5 separate regions of the Homo sapiens genome follow, and regions 1, 2, 4 and 5 are each linked to region 3. The links are contacts of gene promoters, found by promoter capture Hi-C in blood cells and fetal thymus (Javierre and others, 2016). All regions are on one chromosome and are shown on one strand. Each heading gives the region's core, a stretch centred on a gene start or on the middle of the fragment in contact. The rest is flanking DNA. Distances are from core to core; before and after follow the strand shown. Region 1 has its middle 4.2 kb from the start of PHIP. Region 2 holds the start of CYB5R4 (cytochrome b5 reductase 4). Region 3 holds the start of TENT5A (terminal nucleotidyltransferase 5A). Region 4 overlaps HMGN3-AS1 (HMGN3 antisense RNA 1). Region 5 has its middle 3.5 kb from the start of LCA5.

Region 1 (2,700 bases), core at 66-2,565, 2.7 Mb before region 3:
TCCTTGCAATTTTTTGTTCAGCCAACTCTTTTGCATATAAGGATAGTTCAGATTCCATCTATATCCTTTCCTGTTTGTTTATTTTAACATTTTTATGGGTTTCCAAAAATAAAATATCACTTTAAAAAGATCTCCATGCAGTTTAAATAACAAGGTTAACAAATAATAGTAAAAGTTTGGAAAGCCAAGACCTAACGTTTTTACATAATATAGTCTCTCTAGGAGATATAGAAACTTTTCTTGAAATATAAAAGTTTATGTGAAATTCATCACTTTTCACGTGGCAACACATGAAACAAAATAAATATTTAACAAAAATTTTGTCTTGATCTTGTAAGCTATTATTCCAATAAAATAATCAAATACTATCATTTCAGTTGTTTCAGGAACAAGATGGGATGGTATTTATAAGTACAAAAATTATACATTTATGAAATTTAATCTCCAGTAGTATGGTGAATAATACGTAACTCAAAAAATCTCTATAAGTACAACTTTTAAAATTTCATGTTAAATCTTGCTTTTGTTTTGATGTTACATTTCTTCTATAGCAGAAGCTTTATCCTGTGAAATACAGAAATGTAAAAGTAGAAAACACTGTTCTCTCAAAAGTACTTTAAAAAAAACTACTCATCTGCCCCAAGAACACAATACAACTGTCAAGGATCTTATTTAACAAGCCACACTCCTCACTGTGGCTTGCTCCCCAATATTGTGTGTTTCTGTCCATGCTTATCTGACTTTCTCTCTCTCTTACACACACACACACACACACACACATATCCTTCTTCATAGAGCATGAATATTTATCAGATTTGAAGCACATGAACAGATATACTATTTGGCTGCTCCAAAAAGAATAGAGATAACCAACTTAAGTGAGCCATTCCATTATTTAACAATGTTTTTGTTATTTAACATTAACAGTTCTCCCTTATATCTCACTGAGGAATCTTTTTACTTAAATTAGAGCACGTTTCCTTTTAATGTGTAACAAATATAGCTAGTCCTCAACAATCATGTTATCCCTTATGTATTTAAATGTTAGTAATTCACTCAATCTTTTTTATCCAAGTTAAATAATTCTAGTAGTTTGTATTTTTATAAGTCTTAATTTGCACAAGAAATACACATCTTCATGGGTTTATTTATATAGTTTGTTTTAAATGATCACTTCATGAGTTTTAACAGTACAATTACAAAGATTAAAGGAGAAAAACAATTTTAGAACATATTCCCCTAAGATTTGGAGCAACACAGTGGATGAAGCAGAAAAAGCTGTTCCAGATGGCAGGAAACATAAAGGAGAAGTCTGTAGGCATGTTCTATCATAGGAAGATGTCTGATGGACTGGGAGTGGGCTGAGTTGAACAGAGAACAGTGAAAGAAGAGAAGGTAAAGTGGGGGAGGGGAGGAGAAAATGGGTGCAGAGGCTCTGGTAGTACACTATTATCTATGCGATGTTAAGATGGCATTTGAGAAAAACAGTTACATAGTCACTTGCCTTTATATGTGCCTAAAGCCATAAACTTCAGGAACCCCAAAGAAAAAGCATTTTAGTTATAGAAAAGGAAGGGAAAGTTTTATCTGACAAATAGTGAGGAATCTATACAGAGTAAAAATAATGGATATCAAGGACACCAAAGTAGACACTACTGATGACAAAGAAGAACAGGTGTTTGAAAGAATAAGGACTGAACATTCAGAGCACTCACAAGTCTGACTTGAGACTCATATATAAGTTCTAATTCAAAATTAAGAATAAAGCAACTTAGATTTAACTGTAACCAAAAATACTCTATTTTCTGAATTCCTATAAGAGACCTAATTATACAATCTAATTTGTATATTATTTTTGTTTTTCTTCATATATGGGGATGTGTGTGTACTTGCGAAGGTCCCCCTGACTTATGCCTCTGTTGCTTTATTCTCTTTCACAGATATTCTCATACATGTTTATTGAAACAATGACTAGCTATTACAAAAAAATTAGTTATATCATAGTTAAAAATTTAAAACAATATTGATACCAGGTAGATCTTTCAACCAAGATGTGTGTGCTAAAATTTAAGAAAAGCTTATAATTTGATTTTAAGATTACACCTACAAATCTTGTTACACTAACAGTTTTCATGTTTACACTTGAGTGCCTAAAAATACAGGTGCAGACGAAATGGCTGGAGTGGATTTTTAAATGCTCATCAAAATTTACCAACTGATAATGATTTATAGACAAACTATGATAGCCTTTAGATGGAATATTGTGGTAAGAATATATGTGGTATTTCCCCTTAACAGGTATCAGAAGTAATGCCTCTAAGACATCATTAGAGAAAATCTTTCTTAAAAATGTTGGGTAAGTAGCATCATGTGAGAAGGAAGAAGTATATTGTCTTTTTGTCTTATTATAGTTTGTACATGTTACACTTTACACTTGTTTTTGTCATTCAGTGTTTTGGGTTTTTTGGCAAGTACTTGTGTAAGAATTCCATCTTTCCCTGATATTCCGGCATTTTCAGTTTTTTCTGTGTCTCTGTAAAAGTTTCCTTCTTTTCCATCAGTGAAATGTTAGTTTCCAAAGGTAAAATACGGAAAATAAGATATGTAATTATTTGGAGAAACAATTCCCATGTTATATTTTCAGTTTGGATATATTCTAAGAACTCTAAAAATATAAATATGAATCTATTCTTTCCTCTT
Region 2 (2,700 bases), core at 24-2,523, 2.1 Mb after region 3:
ATTTCAATTGCAAATAAAAATGGATAGAGGTGAATGTCATAGGTGGCTACCTTATTTGAATGCTTGTATTTGAATGGCCACATATAGTCACACACTTTTTCTTCTGATTCTGCAAACATAACCTTGATTTTTTAGGCACTTTAAGAACTAAGTAGTTAAACAGAGAAAGTTTAAAGCATGACAATATGTTCAGAGTTAGGAAAAATTAGTAATTAAAGGAGGATGGGGAGGATTATTTAGAACTATGTTTCTTCTCCTGAAAACTTTCTCCCTTATTGGATTCTACTCTCAAGATCTATGTGTTCCCCAAGGGACACACAAAACAATCAATCAAACAAACAAAAACCATCAGATTTTGAGCATTAGAGCCTGGTGTTTACCTGCACAGTGTTGGTCCTTTTCCCATTAATATGTTGGAATAGCACAAACAGCCACTGCCACTTATTCAGTACCTAATATTAATCAGGCACTGCAGTATGTAGTTTACACATGATCCTTTAATCTTTAATAAACCCATTATGCAGATGGGGAAAATGAGACTTTGAGATACTAAAGTAACTTGCATAAGACAGCTCAGTCATTAAGTGCAGGGATGGCATGCAAACCAAATCTGACTTTTAAACGTTACTTCATCACCACAGCTGGAGGTGAGCTGCATCAGTACACAATTCCCAGTGAAGACAGGAAGTTACATAAGGAGGGAGAATTTGTGAGTGGGTGAATAGAGCAGAAGGTGACTTTACTAACGTCTTTCGCGCATTCATTAGCCCTCAGCATGCTTAAAGGTGAAGTTTAAGGATGATTAAAGGTGAGGTTTTCTTCTTACCCCACAGTAGTGGCTGTTGACATTTGATATTTTTGCTCTTAAAGGTGTGAGATGCTCTTTGCATTACAGCCTAGTGCCTTACAGGAAAGAATTTCAGAGAAACTAAAATTCGTTTTAGTCCATATTTCAAGTAGTGTGTTTTAGTCCATATTTCAAGTAGTGTGATGGTACTGCTTAACAATGAACAGACATTGCTGTTCCGGGTTAACAGGACTAAGAATTTGTTCCCACATTCGGTCAGCACCAAGGCTAAGGAACAGCTTCACTCTCTAATCTTTCCACGAAATAGCTGTCACCTTGCTCCGGTGCTGAAGTTCGGGATGCGGAACTAGCTGAGCATGCGTACTTCCTCCCTGCCGGCCCTCCCTCCGTCCCGTTGGCTCCGCCCTCCGCGGACGTGCTGCGTCAGAATGCGCCTCACCCCTGGCGACCCCGGAAGTGGGTCGGGGGCTTGGCCTCTGCCCGGCCACAGAGCCGGAGCTGGAGGTGCTGTCCCGTCTGGCGGCGATCCCCGGGCAGGGCCCGGGGCCGGGGTTTGAAGATGCTGAACGTCCCTTCCCAGTCTTTCCCGGCCCCCAGGTCGCAGCAGCGTGTCGCCTCCGGGGGGCGTAGCAAGGTAAGCGGGTGGCTCCGTGAGTCTCTCCCCTCGCTGCGTTTCGAGCTCTGGCAGTGTGTTCTCTTCTTCCGCCCCAACTCCCAGCTCCTGCACCCCTCTCTAAGCTGTCGTTCCCTGCTGTCCTTGCCTGCAACCTCTTTCTGATCCCACTTTGTCTACAGTCCCTAAACTCTCCTTACCTCCTCCCTTTCCCCTAGCAGTCCCTCTTCTTTCTGGTCCTTTATCCCGCTCTATCCGTTCCCTTCCTCCAAGTCCTTTCCCGCGATTTAAATTTATATGACAGAGCCAGGCACTGTGTTTGCGGTATTATAGGCTCTCGGTATTAGCCGCCTTCCCTCAACCTCATCTTCTCCCTGGTCTTTTGTTCTTCACTGCCTGAAGGAGTTGTACCACATCACTCGATGTGGGTTCCCTCGCAGGAGGGAAAGGCTTGGCAGTGGCGACAGTGACCGTCCGTGCAAGGATGGGGACTTCTGGAGTTGGGGAGCTAGGTCAGGTTTACAGACACTATCCAAGACATACTGCCTTTCTTTCTTCCTCTGGTACCTGATTGTTTTGTCATTGCCTTTTCTACTAGTATCACTTGCTAACTTCGAAGCAAATATAATAATACTCTTGAGTTCTTGTTGAGCACAGTTGCTGTTAGCAACAGGTGGAATACTGTACAGATATATTTTATATTTGCAGAATTCAATAAAAATTGTGTTCTTTGTTCTTTTGCGAATGTTGTTTGTTCCTATTTGTTAGTTCCTCATTCTGTAACCATATCTTTATCTTTCGTTTGTGACACTTCCACTTAACTTGGGCCACTCGGTTAACTCTTGAGTCTTAGCATCGTTTGGAACCCTTATCGATTTTCTTATTTTTCTCCACTTAGACCTGGCGTTCTGATTCTAGTTCAGAATGAATATAGGTTCAGGGATCTGTGGTTTTCATTAGCTTTCCAGAGATTTCTTAAGTACTTACGGGTGGCCGTGTATATTCTCAGTGCTTTGCATGTATTAACTTTAATTTTCACAATTATCCTTTGAAGTGAAAGCTTTTATTGTCTCTATTTCGCAGAAAAGGAAACTGGCTAAGAAATATTGCCCTAAATTGCGTAGGCTTGTGTTGTGGTTCTGCTGTGAAATTTCATTTACTGATTCATATATCAATCATCTAGCCATCCAATCATGTATATTTTTCTCATTGGTTTTTGACCTATTTCTTGAAGCTAAATACTTGACTGAATAACAGTCTTTCCAGAAAGAATCTCTGA
Region 3 (2,700 bases), core at 159-2,658:
GTATCAGAATCTACTCTGGACAAGACTCCAACAGGGAAAGCCAAGAGTTAAAACATAAGGAGAAAGAAGAGAAGAGAGGGCAGAGGAGGACCTGGGAGAAGAGTTGTAGCGCCAAAGCATCAAGTAAACTGAAACACTCAACACCGTCCACGCACGTCAGTTTACTGGTTTAAAAAATCAAAAATCAAAGAAATAACGCGCGCCCAAACTCGTGATGGCCACAGATTCATGGCATTTAACCGATGCCCCTCTGCCCGCTCCCCGTCACACCCGGCCCAGACTGGGTCAGGACCCAAGTGCATCTCGGGTGGTGTTACCTTGAGCGTGAGTGGTGTGATCTTCTCTTTGTTCACCCCCTCGGGTAAGAAGTCCAACAGGCAGTCCAGCACGACGTCCTTCACAGTCTGAAACTCCCCTTCCCCGCGCAGGTCGGCGCAGAAGATGAGGTCCAGGTCCTTGTAGCCCAGGCCGCTGTCCTGGTGCAGGACATGGCTGGCTGCCGAGCCGTTGAGGCGCACGTCGCGGACGCCAATGCGCTTCTCGGCCAGGCGCCGCCGCACCACCTTCACGATCAGGCTCGGCTGCAGCTCGAGCGTGGGGAAGTTGCCGCGCCCGTGAATCGGAATGGTCTCGCTCAGGATGCCGTCCAGCCGCTGCACTTGCTCCCAGTTCAGCACATTGCAGTGCGCCGTAGGGCTTTCGCAATAGTCCAAGCAATGCCCACCGAAGCTGCCGCCACCGCCGAAGTCGCCGCCGCCGAAGTCGCCGCCGCCGAAGTCGCCGCCGCCGAAGTCGCCGCCTAGGGGGATGTAGGGGCTGCAGGCCAGCTCGTCCTCAGACATGGCGAAGTACCCTTCACCCTCCGCCATGTAGTGCCCGCCGAGCGCCACTTGGCCCTGGTCAGTCCTAAAAAGAAAGGGAAAGGAGCGCGGTGAGGACGCGCGGCGGCGGAGAGCACGCGCGGCGGCGGAGAGCAGAGGCCCGCCAGGAAAAGAGCGCCCCCTCCCCCGATAGTTCCCTGACCCCGGGCCTCCTCGGAGACTCCCTCCCCCGGCCCTTACAGTCCCCAGCCGCGCACCGCGCCCCGCAGAGCAGCCCCGCACCAAAAGTATCTCTGATGCATCTGGAAAGCGCAAGCGAGAGTCCCGTCTGTGTCACCTGGAGGCGGCCGCCCCTTCTAGGAGCGCAGCGAGCGAGAGCGAAACCGAGAGGCGGCAACACTTCCAGGAGCTGCGAGCGCGCTCAGACAGCAAATAGCGACTTCGTCTTTCCCAGACCCCTGCCGCCTGCGCTCACCACTCCCTCCCCGCGACCCCTCCTGCGCCGCTGCCACCCCAGCTGCGGTGGTCCCGAACTGGCGGCTCTTGCTGCCACACACGCTCGTGTCTCTGGAGCTTTAGCAGTTGTGCGGGGAAAATGTCTTCAGTACTTTTTTTATACCGGGCTTCTCTGCGCTTCCGGGGCCCAGAGCGGCACGTTCGCCACACCCTCCTCATCTGCATAGGGCGCCGCCCCCTCTGCCCTCCCCCGCCCGCAGGGCACGCAGCTGACTAGCCCAGCAGTTAGTGCGGGACGACTGCCGGTGAGCGTGAGGTCCTGGGCTGTATGTGCGGATACTGTGTGCGCCCGTAGATGCGTGTATTTATACATACATTTAATTTATGTACGCCCCCTCCCACAAATCTCTTTTCATTTTCCCCAGGAGGAGACACTTTAAATGCCCCAGGAATCATAAGTGGTCATCAAAACCAGATCACGACTAAAATCCTGCAACTGCAGAAACTTCCCAAAATTCTCGCGGACTCAGCCCGTCTTTAGATCATCACGGTTGGGCTCCGGAGGTTCCTCACGACCGCTCTTTTAAACCTCGGTTTTTAGGTAGACCATTTACTCCATTGATAAACCCGATCCAAGTGTGGACTCATGAGTCCACTCTTGCACGCAAATCAGTCACGGCGCGTGAGTGGGAAGGGCTTGTTGATAACTGGGTTTCGATTCTCGAAACCTCGGGAAGCGCGCCGGGGAGCTCTGGGCGAGCCCGAGAAGGCGCGGGGGCGGCACCACGGGCCTCGGGCGTGCGCGGCTCCTGCGCACGAGTGGCTCCAAGGGGCCAGTACTTCGCGGGGGTCAGGGCGCGTCACGGAGCAGACGCGGGCGAGCAGCCAATGGCCGAGGACTGGGCGGGCCGAGTGGGCGCAGAGAGCGCGCCCGGGGAGTGCGTGCTGCCCCGGAGTCCAGGGAAAGGGCCGCTAGGTGTCCGGTGCCTTTGCTGCGAGTTCTCTGACAAAATTGGAGGCGGCGAAGCGCGTTCCTCGCGGCCCCCTAAAGTTTGGCCATTTTAAGTGCATCATAGTGTCAGTGGAATACGATTTGGTTTTCCACGAGACGTAAAAGTAGGAGTTTCAAGAATAAAATGAATTCTCTCCTCCAGCTTCGGTGACTTCGGCAGAGCTAATTCTACGCACGCTCACTCGCGCCACCACCACTCTTTGCTAGAAAGCTGTGGCCGTCTCTTCGGCAGCTCGCTGCCTCCATCAACTAACCCGGAGCAGCTTTCCCAGCGCCTAGACGCTGCCGGGGGCTGAGGTGGGGCAGAGGGGAGAATGCCAGGGTCACAGAATACTCCCCAAACCCTGCTCAGCCCTGCCCGCCCAGACTGGGAGGAAAAACAGCCCGCACCTCCTAACTGGGGGAGCCCCG
Region 4 (2,700 bases), core at 118-2,617, 2.5 Mb before region 3:
AATAGTATACTGAAACGAATTAAGATAAAAACCAATTGCTTAGAGCTAGATAAAAATTTACAAGTTAATAATTTTATCATTAAAATAATATTTATAATGAAGATGTCTTTCAAGATATTAATTTGCCAAATACTTGATAGTTAAATAAAGAAAAAGTCAGTGAAAACATTTTTAGTAAGATATGTGTGAGAAGGATACTGAGTAGCACTTGCAATCTGGACTGGATGGCTATTTTTCTTCATGGAGATGGAAAGGTGCCACAACAAAGGTAGTGCTAAGGTGAATATTTCTCCTCTGTGATGAAAAATAACTCACAAAATTGGCTTCTTTGTTAATTTTTTTTCAAAACCAAACACTCAGATCATCAACAGCAAACAAAATTGTGAATGTTTTTACTGCACACAATAAAAATGCTACGATGAAATTGAAGCTTGCTTGTTGGATGAAGAAAGCTGATTGTGAGGACCTCGAGTTCTTGGAATCTTTAGTTCATTTACAAGTTATGAAAATAACAGCTTCGGTTGAAAAACAACAGCATTGCTTATCTTTCCTTTGATGTAGATTGCACCTGGCTGAGCACTACTCTAGGAAATGAAGTGTTCTCCCTTGTACCTTTAGTAGCCTTCAAGATCTGGGAAAGTCAGTGCAAACCTCTACTGGTGGCCCTGGAGGTAAGAAGAGTAGGCAAAGAGAATGATTTAGCAGGTAGCTAGAATTCTAGGTTAAGAGATAAAGACATCTGGGCAGAAATGAGGGTGTCACATAGAAGACAGTGAGGAGGTCAAGCTGGTAAGAAGTACAGACTCATTTGTTTATCAATATATTCCACTGAGCATTTCTACTACTTTGGAATATCAGCCTCTAAGACAGTAAAAGTAGGATGTATATACTATCTTAGCTAAGGTAGACCTGGATAAATTAACAGAGTTACTGACTGAGACAGAAAGAAAAAAAATAGTGAACAAACTTGTTTTCCAATTCCAGCTCCTCTCCTCTTTTGTCCTACTCAAAACTGTTGGAACTGTACACCTACTTCACATTTTTCAATCAGCAGGGCAAAACCATTTATAGTGTCATGACTATCATTAAGGAAAAGAAAGAGACAGAGACATTGACAGACACACACACGCAAACACACACACAGAGAGAGAGAGAGAGAGAGGGAGAAGGGAGAAGGGAAGGCTAAGAAAAGCAAAGAAAGGGCCAAGCATAGAAAATAGCAGAGTATATATGGTAAAGGTAAGTAATGTTTCATAAGATAATTGTTTCTATTTTCCATATGTGCTCATATAAACACATACACAACACAGATATGTATGTGTGTATGTTGGATTGTGACATGAAATATATTTTTAGTATGGTCTTGGTCAAAAAAATTGAATGCCACTGCTAATGAATGTTGTGGATCTTTGACATTCCGAAAAAAAAATGCTTAATATTAAAATTTTTTTTTTAGAGGTAAGATCTCATTCTGTTGCCCAGGCTGGCATGCAGTGGCACAATCATAGCTCACTGCACGTCAGACTGCTGGGCTGAAGAGATCCTCCTGCCTCAGCCTCCTGAGTAGTTATATAGGTGCAAGCCACCACACCAGGCTTGAGAGGAAGTTTTCAAGGGAAAGAATGACTTGCAGATCACCTCCTTCTTGAACTGTCCCTCTTTTCCTCTTTCAGGCAGACACAGGCAGGGTCCCTTAGGCTTTTGCTGTAAGTAATGACAAATTACTGGAGAAGTCAGATCCAGAATGTACATATTGTTGCTTTTGATAGTTGCAACTGTACACCTACTTTGCATTTTTCAGACAGCAGGGCAAAACAAATGATAGTCATGACTATCATTAAGGCAAAGAAAGAGACAGAGACATTGGCAGACAGACACACACACACACACACACACACACAGAGAGAGAGAGAGAGAGAGACAGACAGAGGGAGAAAGGAAGAAAGGGGAAAAGTGAAAATGATACTGTGTTGCTTCTGATAGTTTGTAATTCCAGATTAAGTTACTAATCTTCCATAAATAGGTCAAAAAATACACAGTGAAGAATTCAGGTGTGTAACAAAACAACATCAAAAACAACAAATAAGAGGTGGCAAAAGAATATTTTGTTTGTATTTTCCAGTCAAGTCTCTACTTTGATTGGGTGCTAACTTTTGAAGAGACCAAGGTTAGTTTTTACAAAGCAACAATAAGAGTCCAAGAACTAACGGTCCCAAATCAAATGAGCTGCCTGATATTAGTGCAGATCCCTAGGCCCCAGTCCCAAGGTATTGAATGGCTAGGCTTGGAAATCTGCATTTTCAAACAAGCTTTTCATGTGTTGCTTACACTATAATTCGGGGACTAGAGTATTTAATAGACTAGGCCCTTGCTCTCAACAAATATTTGCTGAATGCCGGTACTTGGATTCTGATGACAGGTATCTATAAAAGCCTGTGGAGTTCTCAACATACTTCCAGAGCAGGAGCGTAATTCTGTGGGTGAAACTCGCCCCACAGTCCTCACCTCATGCTTTTGCTCCATCTCAGTTTTGCTGGGCACAACCTGTTTATTTCACTTTCTTTCTCTTCTGTAGTTGCAAGGAACCTGAAGAGTGATTAAAAACTGCACACATCCAGATACCTAGAAAAGTGTCTTCTTCTTCCCAGGCAGCCCCTCTAGGCAGCTCCTTGGGCCCCTGGGAGATGAAAATCCCTGATC
Region 5 (2,700 bases), core at 132-2,631, 2.2 Mb before region 3:
TAGGACTTTGATTGGCTTCTTTATTGCCATATGGCAATGATGTAGATGTTATAATGTAACTAAAATATTCCTACAAATGCTTACTAGTAGGATTATTCTCATTTTCCTTTGGGGAAACTAGTGTCGAGTTTGAATGGTTGGTTAGAAGTTTCAAAAAAGTAATAGGTAGATAAATAGACTCTCTAACTGTAGACAGAGAAATTACAATGACCATAATTTGTAAAGTGGGGGGACATACTATATATAGTATCTTGGAAAGCACATAAGTATAATTATCCTTAGCTAAAGTTCAGTCATCTATTTCATACCATTCTACAAAAGAAGAAAAGCAGTGTCACAATTTTATATAATTTACAGAAATGTGATACATAACAAAAATTCAAAAATTTTTTCTCTAACTTCTTGATCTCATGTTGCTTGGAAATTTTAAATTTATTAATAGATTCTAGGTAAATAGTTGGTTTTAGCATATAACACTAAATTTGAAACAGTATCTAATATGCTGCATGTTTAAGAGAAATCGAATGGATTGGTTGAGTTGGGTGTAAAGAACAGTATAATTGGCCGGGTGCTGTGGCTCATGCCTGTAATCCCAGCACTTTGGGAGGCCAAGGTGGGTGGATCACGAGGTCAGGAGATCAAGACCATCCTGGCTAACACAGTAAAACCCTGTCTCTAATAAAAATACAAAAAAATGAGCTGGGCGTGGTGGCGGGTGCCTGTAGTCCCAGCTACTCGGGAGGCTGAGGCAGGAGAATGGCATGAACCCGGGAGGCGGAGGTTGCAGTGAGCCGAGATCGCGCCACTGCACTCCAGCCTGGGCAACAGAGCAAGATTCCGTCTCAAAAATAAATAAATAAATAAATAAAATAAATAAATAGTATAATTTCATACCTAGAAAGTGGGCTGCTCTGATGAAAACAAATGTAGTCTAATCTGATTGCTATGAATACTTGATTTTGCAGTACAAAAAGCTAGTAGCCTTTGATTATTGCTCTGTTTAAAGGATACAGTTTCTGATCACTTGATGAAATGTACGAGTTTTTTTTTGTTAATGGAGAAAGAAAACTTGAGATGTTTGTAAAAATGTGTATATACTTACAACATAATGCTGGTCATCGATAGAATGAACTACTGATTAACACGGATTAATTTTAAAGACAATATTGAGCAAAAGAAGTCAGACACAAAAGAATATATTCTGTATACTTCCATTAATAAGTGATTCAAAAACAGGCAAAATTCATCTAAACTGGAAAAAATTAGAACAGTTATTGACTGTGGGGATGGAGGTAGGATCAAGTGGAAGGGACTGAAAGTTATTTTTGGAGTGATGTGAATATGCTGTTTTGACTGACGTGGTAGTTAAAGAGAGTTTCCAGCCGGGCATGGTGGCTCATGCCTGTAATCCCAGCACTTTGGTAGGCCGAAGTGGGCAGATCACTTGAGGTGAGGAGTTTGAGACCAGTCTGGCCAACATGGTGAGACCCCCATTTCTACTAAAAATACAAAATTAGCCAGACGTGGTGGTGTGTGCCTGCAGTCCCAGCTTCACGTGAGGCTGAGGCAGGAGAATTGCTTGAACCTGGGAGGCAAAGGTTGCAGTGAGCTGAGATCACACCACTGCACTCCAGCCTGGGCGGCAGAGTGAGACTCAGTCTCAAAAAAAAAGAAGTTTCCTTTATCAAAATTCATTAAAATATATAAAATATGTGTGCTTTTCACTGTATGTAAATTTTACCTCAATTTCTGAATGGCTTAAAAAAAAAGAATGCATTGGTTTGTATAACAGAAAAATCTAGTAGACCTAGCTCCACGTATGGTTGGATCCAAGTGCTCAATGTTATTAAAATTTTTTCTTCTCTTTGTCTCTTGGATGTACTTTTCTACGTGTTGGTCTTATTTAAGGCAGGCTTTCCCTTCCAGGTATGGCCACCAGTGCTCCAGATTTACATTCTATTTACCTCACAACCCCAGTGGAAAAAGAATATCTCTTTCCTGATTGGTCCAGCAGAAATCTTGGTATTAACTCTGACTGCCCACACTTGAATATGAACTATTAGTAAGTACTGTGGCCAAGAGTTTGCTTCGGGAAAGAATATGATAAAGTCACCTTATCTTTCATGTTTGCTCAGAATAGTGAGGTGATTCTCCACAGGAAAACTGGAATGCTGTTACTAGAAGAAGAAATACTGGACAAAGCTAATAGATGTCCCCAAAAGTGATGATAATAATTTTATTCAAATAGGTTCATAGATCAGTCTGGTGGGCTTGTTTTCACATTTTATTTAAGAAAAACTCTTGTAATTACAAGTTCCCCAGTCTGTAAATACAGATGAGATTAACCAAATTTTGTTATTTTTTGACTGCCTCTGCTTTATAGCACCCCTCCCCTCCAAAGACTTCCCCACCAATAATTTCTGGGACTTCCTAGAGAGTGTCTCATACTTACAAACATACCTGCCTCTACTGGTCATCCCACTAGGCAAGATACCAGGACCACTGCTCTGCCAGGCAACAGTCTATCCCTCTTCTCTCCAGGACCCAGCAACTTCTGCTGGTGGCCATCATGAAGTCACTGAGTACCACCACTTACACCAGTGCCAGAGTTGAACTGGAATTGTGCCAGTTATATGCCTTTTGTTTCTCAGATCCTAGCCTGCCTTTTCTATATCCTACTTTTTTTTTTTTTCCGAGACA

What was found. Contacts are between HindIII fragments. The CHiCAGO score rates a contact against its expected background, and 5 or more counts as called.
Region 1: a fragment that was not itself captured here is called in contact with the fragment with the promoter of TENT5A in region 3 in 1 of 17 cell types (total B cells); the score reaches 6.9 in total B cells.
Region 2: a contact is called between the fragment with the promoter of CYB5R4 here and the fragment with the promoter of TENT5A in region 3, in 3 of 17 cell types (neutrophils, naive CD4 T cells and total CD4 T cells). The highest score is 6.4, in neutrophils.
Region 4: a contact is called between a fragment that was not itself captured here and the fragment with the promoter of TENT5A in region 3, in 1 of 17 cell types (naive B cells). The highest score is 6.2, in naive B cells.
Region 5: a fragment that was not itself captured here is called in contact with the fragment with the promoter of TENT5A in region 3 in 2 of 17 cell types (fetal thymus and total B cells); the score reaches 5.4 in fetal thymus.

What each region holds. Positions count from the first base shown.
Region 1 is chr6:79,081,116-79,083,815 of GRCh38, forward strand. No RefSeq gene overlaps it. Among named protein-coding and RNA genes, the nearest start is that of PHIP, 4.2 kb to the left of the region's middle. The HindIII fragment of the contact is 1,520 bases long and covers 556-2,075 here.
Region 2 is chr6:83,858,416-83,861,115 of GRCh38, forward strand. It overlaps CYB5R4 (cytochrome b5 reductase 4), which reads left to right and starts at 1,274. Exons shown (of 16, transcript NM_016230.4): 1 at 1,274-1,442. The coding sequence starts at 1,368. All of the region lies in intron 3 of RIPPLY2-CYB5R4 (RIPPLY2-CYB5R4 readthrough), which reads left to right. RefSeq lists a silencer at 1,345-1,394. The HindIII fragment of the contact is 3,476 bases long and covers 1-2,479 here.
Region 3 is chr6:81,751,273-81,753,972 of GRCh38, forward strand. TENT5A (terminal nucleotidyltransferase 5A) reads right to left here and starts at 1,409. Exons shown (of 3, transcript NM_017633.3): 1 at 1,159-1,409; 2 at 318-906. The coding sequence starts at 869. RefSeq lists enhancers at 1,070-1,570, 2,431-2,480 and a silencer at 1,481-1,610. The HindIII fragment of the contact is 5,877 bases long and covers 1-2,700 here.
Region 4 is chr6:79,236,374-79,239,073 of GRCh38, forward strand. It overlaps HMGN3-AS1 (HMGN3 antisense RNA 1), which reads left to right. Exons shown (of 2, transcript NR_040671.1): 2 at 1-427. Among named protein-coding and RNA genes, the nearest start is that of HMGN3, 3.0 kb to the left of the region's middle. The HindIII fragment of the contact is 1,879 bases long and covers 429-2,307 here.
Region 5 is chr6:79,539,591-79,542,290 of GRCh38, forward strand. It overlaps a transcript of SH3BGRL2 not described here. Among named protein-coding and RNA genes, the nearest start is that of LCA5, 3.5 kb to the left of the region's middle. The HindIII fragment of the contact is 5,167 bases long and covers 1-2,700 here.